2 separate regions of the Homo sapiens genome follow, and region 1 is linked to region 2. The links are contacts of gene promoters, found by promoter capture Hi-C in human tissues and cell types (Jung and others, 2019). All regions are on one chromosome and are shown on one strand. Each heading gives the region's core, a stretch centred on a gene start or on the middle of the fragment in contact. The rest is flanking DNA. Distances are from core to core; before and after follow the strand shown.

Region 1 (4,972 bases), core at 2,473-4,972, 1.0 Mb before region 2:
AGCCGGCCGCGGGGAGGGCTGGCTGGCGGGCGGGCGGGCGGGCTGGCAGGCCGTGGCACCGCCCCCTGCCCCTCCCCTCCGCCCGCGGTCCGGAGCTCTGAGCCGCCCACTGGCTTGAGCTCCTGCCGCTCACAGGCGGGTTTCTCCCCCACTTCCTCTCTCATTGGCCGCCAAGCAAAGGCACGACGCTACGATTGGCCCAGTGTTCCGCTATTTCCGTTTGGGAGCTGGGGAGGGGGGGGAGGAGGCGTTGCCCGAGAGACGGGCGGGGTTCGATTGCGTATCATGGGCCCGCCCCCTCCGCGCGGCCAGGTCAAACACTGATTGGATCTAGCGGCTCTCCAAGGAGGAAGGGAGGGACGTGAAGGAAGGCGGGGAACGGTCCTAGGAGGCGGGACTTAGGTTGACTGGGACCAATGAACGGGTAGACCTGCCCCGCAGGCGTCGCGGATTGGCGAGATCTGTCCTACTTCAGCCCTCCATTGGGCGGCTGTGGGGCGGGCGGAAGGCGAAGATCAGTAGAGAAGGAAAGAGGGGAGGGTGTCACTCCGCTCGGCTGGGATAGGTGGAGCGACGCCTGCAATTCCCTGCTGCAGAGAAGGGGTTGGGCGAGGCAAGAGAGCGTGCGGTGTTTACTGCGCAAGCGTCTCCGTGTTCCCTTTCTCCCTCCACTGTCACCCCCGACTGCTGAAATCCTCTTCTAGGAAGCCTTCCTCCCCTCCCCCCTTCTCTGCAGCCAACGTGTCGGGACTTGAGTTGTCAGGAGACCTAGAATCTCAGAGTGAAAAACAGTAATTCAAGGCTAGTCCCATTAAGCAGAAGTTAAAACTTAGGTCGAGAGGGCGAATGACTTGCCCAGGGCCACACAGCTTGGAAGTGAAAAAGCAGAAATAAACGTAAACCGTATCTTGGCTTACTTTTCAATATATGTTGCCTTTTTTTTTTTGTCCAACCGCAGTGTCTCTCGGGCAGCCTCCATTGTAGCAGATATCAAACCAAAATTGATTGTCTCCTCCAGACTGGGAACTCCTTCTGGGCAAGAATGGGACCTGGCCTTGAACAGTTTCAACAACATTTGTTAAAAGAAGAAATAGGTGAATCTGCTTTGGCCCAGCCCCAGCCTCCATCCCCAACCCCCAGCTCCCCAGAGACTCTTTGGTAAACTGGCTTTGGGGAAGGCAAAACGGCCAGAACTCCCAACGCCCCAGGAGATTGAGAAATTTGGGACAAAGGGAACTGGAAGAGTCCATTTCTGTCACCTGTAGGAACAAAACTCCACCCCATCAGCCTTTTCTAATCTCAGAAGCCAAGAATTCCTGGAATGAGCCTTGGGGGTGTGTTCTGGACCTTTGGAATGGCCATTCTGAATCCTGGGAGATGGAAAGGAGGTTGAGAAGAGCCCACCTTCCAGGCTCAATGGATGCGTCCATTTGGGTTTCCAGGAATGGGGCCTGGGAAAGTCCATTTTGGATTCCAGGAGGACAGAAATTGCTCAGCTGTTTTAGTCACAGGGAGAGTCCATTTCTAATATGGGAGGGGGGTGCTGTTTGCCCCTGAAGAACATAAAGCAGCCCCATTAAACACAAGAAAAATTATTAATCCCAGGACTTGAAGTTCTTTTTTTTTTTTTTTGAGATGGAGTCTCGCTCTGTCGCCCAGGCTGGGGTGCAGTGGCGCGATCTCAGCTCACTGCAACCTCCGCCTCCCGGGTTCACGCCATTCTCCTGCCTCAGCCTCCCAAGTAGCTGGGACTACAGGCGCACGCCACCATGCCTGGCTAATTTTTTGTGTTTTTAGTAGAGACGGGGTTTCACCGTGTTAGCCAGGATGGTCTCGATCTCCTGACCTTGTGATCCGCCCACCTCGGCCTCCCAAAGTGCTGGAATTACAGGCGTGAGCCACTGCGCCCGGCCTTTTTTTTTTTTCTTTTTTTTGAGACAGAGTCTCTCTCTGTCCCCCAGGCTGGAGTTCAGTGACTCAATCTCGGCTCACTGTAACCTCTTCCTCCCGAGTTAAAGCGATTTTCCTGCCTCAGCCTCCTAAGTAGCTGGGATTACAGGCACCCGTCATCATGCTCGCCTAATTTTTGTATTTTTGTAGAGACAGTGTTTCACTATGTTGGCCAGGCTGGTCTTGAACTCCTAACCTCAGGTGATCCGCCCGCCTCGGCCTCCCAAAGTGCTGGGATTACAGGTGTGAGACACCGCGCCCAGCCAGGAGTTCTTTATTATAGAAAGATTAAGTGTTCCAAGAACTGGAGTCCATTCATGACCAGGAAGAAGTACTTTCTCCCTGGGGATAACAGCATTTAAAATGTCTATTAGCAGTGATGTTTGAACTAGTCTTTTTGAGAAGTGTGAAGAGAACAGGAAAAGTCTGTCCCTAAATAGCAGGGCAGTGCTCGCTTCGACAGCACATGTATTAACATTGGAACGATACAGAGAAGATTAGCATGGGCCCTGCGCAAAGACCACATGCAAATTTGTGACATGTTCCATATATTTTTTAAATACTTTGGGCGGGCGGGGCGCAGTGGCTCACACCTGTAATTCCAATGCTTTGGGAGGCTGAAGTGGGCAGATCACGAGGTCAGGAGTTGGAGACTAGCCTAGCCAACACAGTGAAACCCTGTCTCTACTAAAAATACAAAAAAAAAATTAGATGGGTGTGGTGGCAGGTACCTGTAGTCCCAGCTACTCAGGAGGCTGAGGCAGGAGAATCGCTTGAAACTGGGAGGTAGAGGTTGCAATGAGCCAAGATCACGCCACTGCACTCCAGCCTGGGTGTCAGAGCGAGACTCCATCTAAAAAAAAAAAAAAAAAATTATAGCGGAGCATGGTGGCTCATGTCTGTAATCCCACACTTTGGGAGGCTAAGGCGGGTGGACCATTTGAGGTCGGGAGTTTGAGACCAACTTGGCCAACATGGTGAAACCCGTCTCTACTAAAAATACAAAAATTAGCCGGACATTGTGGCCAGCGCCTGTAGTCCCAGCTACTGGGGAGGCTGAGGCAGGAGAATCGGTTGAACCCCGGGAGGTGGAGGTTGCAATGAGCTGAGATCGCGCCACTGAACTCCAGCCTCCATGACAGAGAGAGACTCTGTCTCAAAAAAAATAAAAAGTATTAAAGAAAATAATAAATAAATAAACGGGGGAGGGGGATACCACCCTCTGTCCTGCCCCAACTCTCTACCTTCCTCTCCTCCCTCACCTTCTACCCTGACCCCGAGGCCCACCGCACCTAGCTTTCTTTTGTTGATCTACCTGTATATTGCCTTTCCCCCGACCCCGACGCCCCATAGAATATGAGACCCTCCAGGTCAGGGTCTGGATCTCAGCCCTCTTCGACCACAGTCTCTCAAACCCCAGCCAATTGTCAAATCCAGGAAGCTACATGAAGAATCAAGAACAAGTGCACAGGGCTGTGTGACCCCACGCTTAGTCTCAGGGAGAGGGAAGTTGGACCTCTCCCAAGAATCCGTGGGCCGACCCATTGTTAAGTTACAGGCTAGCATGAATCCATCCACTGGAGCTCTGAAGACGGGGGGCACATTGGGCATGTAACTAGAATCCTGAACAGGAGGAGTCCACTGAGAACCCTAGGGGAATGACCTGGGCCAGCATCTCTCCCTACCCTGTGCCCCCCACTCACTGGGGCCCAGTGGTTGGGTCCTTTGTGAGGCAGGCTGAGGGGACAGTGGATCCTGAGGGTCTGTGGTCACAGTAGGTAGGAAGTCTCAGAGGAAGGAGCCCCTCCCTGGGAGCCAGACCCCCACACCATGGCGAGCGTGGTGGTGAAGACGATCTGGCAGTCCAAAGAGATCCATGAGGCCGGGGACACCCCCACGGGGGTGGAGAGCTGCTCCCAGCTAGTCCCAGAGGCTCCCCGGAGGGTGACCAGCCGGGCCAAGGGGATCCCGAAGAAAAAGAAGGCCGTGTCGTTCCACGGGTGGGTTTGTTGCACACTGTCAGGGATGGTTCTAATGCCCAGCACTACCTCCAACAGAGCAGGAGTCCGACTGTGGGTGCTAGAGGAAGGGGAGGGGGAAAAGCCAGCAGGTCGGGGGCAGGAAAGAGGGCAGCAGTGAAGAGACATCAAGTCACAGGGAGGTAGAGAGGAAGAAGGTAATGGGGATGGATGGAGGGAGGAAGAAGGTAATGGGGATGGATGGAGAGAGGAAAAAGCCAGTGGGGAGGGAAGAAGGAGAAGGGAGGCTAGTGAATGAAGAAGAAAGTAGGTGGCAGAGAAGGGAGGAGAAAGTAGGCAGCGGGGAAGGAGAAGAAGAAAGTAGACAGTGGTGGTCGGGCACGGTGGCTCACGCCTGTAATCCCAGCACTTTGGGAGGCCGAGGCAGGTGGATCATGAGGTCAGGAGTTCAAAACCAGCTTGGCCAACATGGTGAAAAGCCATCTCTACTAAAAATACTAAAATTAGCTGGGCGTGATGGCACATGCCTATAACCCCAGCTACTCAGGAGGCTGAGGCAGGAGAATTGCTTGAACTGGGACCCGCAGTCGGAGGTTGCAGTGAGCTGAGATCGCGCCACTGCACTCCAGCCTGGGCAACAGAGTGAGACTCTGTCTCAAAAAAAAAAAAAAAAGAAAGAAAGAAAAAAGAAAGAAAGTAGGCAGCACAGGGAAGGAGAATAAAGTAGGCAGCGGGGACAGAGAAGGGAGAAACTTATATACAGTGAGGGTGGAGTCACAGGGGGTGAGGTATGGAGAAAGGAAGGCAGGAGGGCCCAGACACCCTGGGGCTGCTTCTCCACTTTTCTGCCTGTTTCTTCTCTGCAGGGTGGAGCCCCAGATGTCCCATCAGCCCATGCACTGGTGCCTGAACCTCAAACGGTCCTCGGCCTGCACCAACGTGTCACTGCTCAACCTGGCCGCCATGGAGCCCACTGACTCCACGGGGACAGACTCCACAGTGGAAGACCTCAGCGGCCAACTCACACTGGCTGGGCCCCCTGC
Region 2 (5,445 bases), core at 2,481-4,980:
TCGGCGTCCACGTGCGCCGTGGGGACTATCTGCAGGTTATGCCTCAGCGCTGGAAGGGTGTGGTGGGCGACAGCGCCTACCTCCGGCAGGCCATGGACTGGTTCCGGGCACGGCACGAAGCCCCCGTTTTCGTGGTCACCAGCAACGGCATGGAGTGGTGTAAAGAAAACATCGACACCTCCCAGGGCGATGTGACGTTTGCTGGCGATGGACAGGAGGCTACACCGTGGAAAGACTTTGCCCTGCTCACACAGTGCAACCACACCATTATGACCATTGGCACCTTCGGCTTCTGGGCTGCCTACCTGGCTGGCGGAGACACTGTCTACCTGGCCAACTTCACCCTGCCAGACTCTGAGTTCCTGAAGATCTTTAAGCCGGAGGCGGCCTTCCTGCCCGAGTGGGTGGGCATTAATGCAGACTTGTCTCCACTCTGGACATTGGCTAAGCCTTGAGAGCCAGGGAGACTTTCTGAAGTAGCCTGATCTTTCTAGAGCCAGCAGTACGTGGCTTCAGAGGCCTGGCATCTTCTGGAGAAGCTTGTGGTGTTCCTGAAGCAAATGGGTGCCCGTATCCAGAGTGATTCTAGTTGGGAGAGTTGGAGAGAAGGGGGACGTTTCTGGAACTGTCTGAATATTCTAGAACTAGCAAAACATCTTTTCCTGATGGCTGGCAGGCAGTTCTAGAAGCCACAGTGCCCACCTGCTCTTCCCAGCCCATATCTACAGTACTTCCAGATGGCTGCCCCCAGGAATGGGGAACTCTCCCTCTGGTCTACTCTAGAAGAGGGGTTACTTCTCCCCTGGGTCCTCCAAAGACTGAAGGAGCATATGATTGCTCCAGAGCAAGCATTCACCAAGTCCCCTTCTGTGTTTCTGGAGTGATTCTAGAGGGAGACTTGTTCTAGAGAGGACCAGGTTTGATGCCTGTGAAGAACCCTGCAGGGCCCTTATGGACAGGATGGGGTTCTGGAAATCCAGATAACTAAGGTGAAGAATCTTTTTAGTTTTTTTTTTTTTTTTTTGGAGACAGGGTCTCGCTCTGTTGCCCAGGCTGGAGTGCAGTGGCGTGATCTTGGCTCACTGCAACTTCCGCCTCCTGTGTTCAAGCGATTCTCCTGTCTCAGCCTCCTGAGTAGATGGGACTACAGGCACAGGCCATTATGCCTGGCTAATTTTTGTATTTTTAGTAGAGACAGGGTTTCACCATGTTGGCCAGGATGGTCTCGATCTCCTGACCTTGTCATCCACCTGTCTTGGCCTCCCAAAGTGCTGGGATTACTGGCATGAGCCACTGTGCCCAGCCCGGATATTTTTTTTTTAATTATTTATTTATTTATTTATTTATTGAGACGGAGTCTTGCTCTGTAGCCCAGGCCAGAGTGCAGTGGCGCGATCTCAGCTCACTGCAAGCTCTGCCTCCCGGGTTCATGCCATTCTGCCTCAGCCTCCTGAGTAGCTGGGACTACAGGCGCCCGCCACCACGCCCGGCTAATTTTTTTTGTATTTTTAGTAGAGACGGGGTTTCATCGTGTTAACCAGGATGGTCTCGATCTCCTGACCTCGTGATCTGCCCACCTCGGCCTCCCACAGTGCTGGGATTACCGGCGTGAGCCACCATGCCTGGCCCGGATAATTTTTTTTAATTTTTGTAGAGACGAGGTCTTGTGATATTGCCCAGGCTGTTCTTCAACTCCTGGGCTCAAGCAGTCCTCCCACCTTGGCCTCCCAGAATGCTGGGTTTATAGATGTGAGCCAGCACACCGGGCCAAGTGAAGAATCTAATGAATGTGCAACCTAATTGTAGCATCTAATGAATGTTCCACCATTGCTGGAAAAATTGAGATGGAAAACAAACCATCTCTAGTTGGCCAGCGTCTTGCTCTGTTCACAGTCTCTGGAAAAGCTGGGGTAGTTGGTGAGCAGAGCGGGACTCTGTCCAACAAGCCCCACAGCCCCTCAAAGACTTTTTTTTGTTTGTTTTGAGCAGACAGGCTAAAATGTGAACGTGGGGTGAGGGATCACTGCCAAAATGGTACAGCTTCTGGAGCAGAACTTTCCAGGGATCCAGGGACACTTTTTTTTAAAGCTCATAAACTGCCAAGAGCTCCATATATTGGGTGTGAGTTCAGGTTGCCTCTCACAATGAAGGAAGTTGGTCTTTGTCTGCAGGTGGGCTGCTGAGGGTCTGGGATCTGTTTTCTGGAAGTGTGCAGGTATAAACACACCCTCTGTGCTTGTGACAAACTGGCAGGTACCGTGCTCATTGCTAACCACTGTCTGTCCCTGAACTCCCAGAACCACTACATCTGGCTTTGGGCAGGTCTGAGATAAAACGATCTAAAGGTAGGCAGACCCTGGACCCAGCCTCAGATCCAGGCAGGAGCACGAGGTCTGGCCAAGGTGGACGGGGTTGTCGAGATCTCAGGAGCCCCTTGCTGTTTTTTGGAGGGTGAAAGAAGAAACCTTAAACATAGTCAGCTCTGATCACATCCCCTGTCTACTCATCCAGACCCCATGCCTGTAGGCTTATCAGGGAGTTACAGTTACAATTGTTACAGTACTGTTCCCAACTCAGCTGCCACGGGTGAGAGAGCAGGAGGTATGAATTAAAAGTCTACAGCACTAACCCGTGTCTCTGTAGCTTTTTTGGAGCCAGAGCCACTGTGTATGTGTGTGTGGGTTTGTGTGTGTGTGTGTGTGTGTGTGTGTGTAAGAGAGTGGAGGAAAAGGTGGGGTACTTCTGAAGACTTTTATTTTTTTTTAATTAATTTATTTTTTTTCAGAGATCGAGTCTTGCTCTGTGGCCCAGGCTGGAGTGCAGTAGTGTGATCTCGGCCCACTGCAAACTCCCACCTCTCGGATTCTGGTGCCTCAGCCTCCCAAGTAGCTGGGACTACAGACGTTCGCCACCATGCCCAGCTAATTTTTGTATTTTTAGTAGAGACGGGGTTTCACCATGTTAGCCAGGCTGGCCTCGAACTCCTGACCTCAGACAATCTGCCCGCCTCGGCCTCCCAAAGCGCTGGAATTACAAGCGTGAGCCACCGCGCCGGGCCCTGAGGATTTTTATTACTCGTGATTGGGAGTACTGTCCCTACTTAGATCTGACAGCCCCTTGTTGCTGGACTTGTGTGAGTTGTGGTCCCTGTTTTTCTGGTTCCCTGTTTCTATCACACAGGAGAGAGAGACCTTCCAGGACCCTAACGTCTGAGCCCCCAGTTGCTCACTCCTGGACTGTCAGTATTGGCCCCCAGTCCTCTCCTCCCACTGGGACCTCCGCGTGGGCAGAAGAGGCGGAGGAGGGAGCGGATTATCACTGAACTACATTTCCCGGAAAGCTATGAGGTTGGCAGCGTCAGTCAGCTACAGAGAAAGAGGCCCCAGGGCATTTTGGGAGTTGTAGTCTTAGGGCTAAAATGTCCACTTCGTGGCTCGACAGCCGTTTCCAAGGACCGCGGTGGGGGCGGCAGCGGCCTGGGGGGCCGGATCTAGCCCAAAGCCTGGGTCCTGGGGCAAGGGGAGGGGAGGAAACTGAAGGCCTGAGTCCGGTCCTTGACTCTGGAAGCCAGAGTAGTCAGGAGGCTTCCTCTTCCCTAGATGCTGGGAAAATTCTAGTCCAAAAAGGCTGCAGCCTCTGTGACGTCATGGAGCGATGGGCGGGACCTCCCTTTGTTGCAGTCCAATCAGACAGAGTTGAGTTTCTGGGTGGGGCCGAGGAAAACCCCAAGGAATATCTATAAAGGAATTCGGGCCCCTACGTGAGAAGCTCGGAGGGGGTGGTTTCAGGAGTTCCTTGTGGAGAGGGGATCGTCCGTGACTCAGACCCCGTCGAAAAGCTCTCGATTTCACGCAACCAACCTTACCCTCGTCCCCAACACAATCCTTGATTTTACCCCTGGGAAAATTAGCGTAGGTGGTCATGACCCCGGCTTCCTCTTTAAAAGCCCTCAGAACCTGGACCGGGCTCCTCAATGAACCCTAGTGTTAGAGGCCACAAATCGGGAACCAAGGTCGGGGAGCGGCTGTTTAGGGTGCATCACTGTTCAGGATGCATCGGGGCTCCTTTTTCTAAGCGGAAGGGTGCGCCCTGCAAATTGGGAGCCCGTTAGTTTTGGGGAAGGGTGAACAAGGGCCCCCTAGGTCTAGAGGACCGCATGGAGTCTCGCTTAAGTGTTAGTGGGGTCCTCAGTTCTAGGAATCTGGTATGTGTTTTGGTTTTGAAGGAGTTCCGAGTTTGATAATATCGTGGTTGGGTCTGTGTTAGATGTTTATTGGTTTGGGCATTGAATCTTCAGCTTGAGGTTCAACAGGTTTTGGGGGGCTGGCGGGGGAGTGCCTCGGTGTTGCTCTTAAGGGTTGGAGTTCAGGCTCACGTCAATCTGGGGACTTGGAAAATTCCACAGTTTGGGATTTTGGGAAGGGGCGCATGGGGTTGGGAGATTCCAGGTTCTGAGTTTGGGGACTTATGAGTGATTCCTGTTTAATAGTTTTTCTGATCTCTCAGTTGGGGGATTCAGTGAGAACCCTAAATTTTGGGTCCCCTGGATTGGGGCTCAGTTTCACACTTCGGAGGCATTTGATGAAGGACATAGGTCCTCTTTATTTGGAGATTTCCTGAAGATCCTCTTTTCGAGGTTTGCGGACCCCATGGATAGGCGGCCCAGTGGGATTTCTTAAGATGGATTTTGGCTTTTCTCCGTTTAGCGTTCTCCTGCTCTCGGTTTGGGGTGAGAGCACCCTTCCTAACGGTCTTCGGGAACTGTGCGCGCCGGCTGCAATGGGGCCGCATTTTACCCTCCTGTGTGCGGCGCTGGCCGGTTGCTTGCTTCCTGCCGAGGGGTGTGTTATATGTGACCCGTCTGTCGTGCTGGCGCTAAAGTCCCTGGAGAAAGATTACCTGCCTGGCCACCTGGATGCGAAGCATCACAAAGCCATGATGGAAAGGGTAGAGAATGCCGTGAAGGATTTCCAGGAACTGTCGCTTAATGAGGATGCCTATATGGGGGTCGTTGGTGAGGGCAGGGGGGACCACGGACCCCTGGGTCCTGGGAAAGGAGGGAGATAAGACCAGGGGAAGGAAGAGGCTGACAGCAGGGTCTCCGGGATTCGGGAATGGAGAAGGCTGAGATGCAGATTCCGAGGTTCCCCGAGGCTAGTAAATACCGTTTTCCCTATCCTCGGCTGGCAATTTTATGTAATAAAACTACAACTCCCAGAAGGCAACGGGCGGCTGAGTCCTTAACCAGGCCTATCTTTGCCCAGTGGCCTCATGGGTATTGTAGTTTCTAAGATTAGGCGCGCCAATGAGACAGTAAGGCTGGAATCTGGGGTTATATCTCCTCTGACAGATGAGGCCACACTGCAAAAGGGGTCCTGGAGTTTGCTGAAGGATCTGAAACGCATCACAGACAGTGATGTAAAAGGTAAATGCATCAAGGGGGTG

What was found. The method cuts DNA at HindIII sites, captures the fragments that hold promoters and counts their contacts. A contact is called where the count stands out against the background at its distance.
Region 1: a contact is called between the fragment with the promoter of TSKS here and the fragment with the promoter of IZUMO1 in region 2, in 1 of the 25 tissues and cell types used here (lymphoblastoid cells).

Annotation. Positions count from the first base shown.
Region 1 is chr19:49,762,056-49,767,027 of GRCh38, reverse strand. TSKS (testis specific serine kinase substrate) reads left to right here and starts at 3,722. Exons shown (of 11, transcript NM_021733.2): 1 at 3,722-3,950; 2 at 4,796-4,972. The coding sequence starts at 3,781. It overlaps AP2A1 (adaptor related protein complex 2 subunit alpha 1), which reads right to left and starts at 27. Exons shown (of 23, transcript NM_130787.3): 1 at 1-27. It also overlaps the pseudogene RNU6-841P. RefSeq lists enhancers at 1-331, 385-1,362, 4,969-4,972 and a silencer at 1-472. The HindIII fragment of the contact is 39,317 bases long and covers 1-4,972 here.
Region 2 is chr19:48,745,194-48,750,638 of GRCh38, reverse strand. IZUMO1 (izumo sperm-oocyte fusion 1) reads left to right here and starts at 3,730. Exons shown (of 10, transcript NM_182575.3): 1 at 3,730-4,204; 2 at 4,707-5,014; 3 at 5,351-5,425. The coding sequence starts at 4,780. FUT1 (fucosyltransferase 1 (H blood group)) reads left to right here. Exons shown (of 2, transcript NM_001384359.1): 2 at 1-2,628. The coding sequence ends at 455. RefSeq lists enhancers at 2,664-3,449, 3,450-4,235 and a cis regulatory region at 5,011-5,445. The HindIII fragment of the contact is 12,211 bases long and covers 1-5,445 here.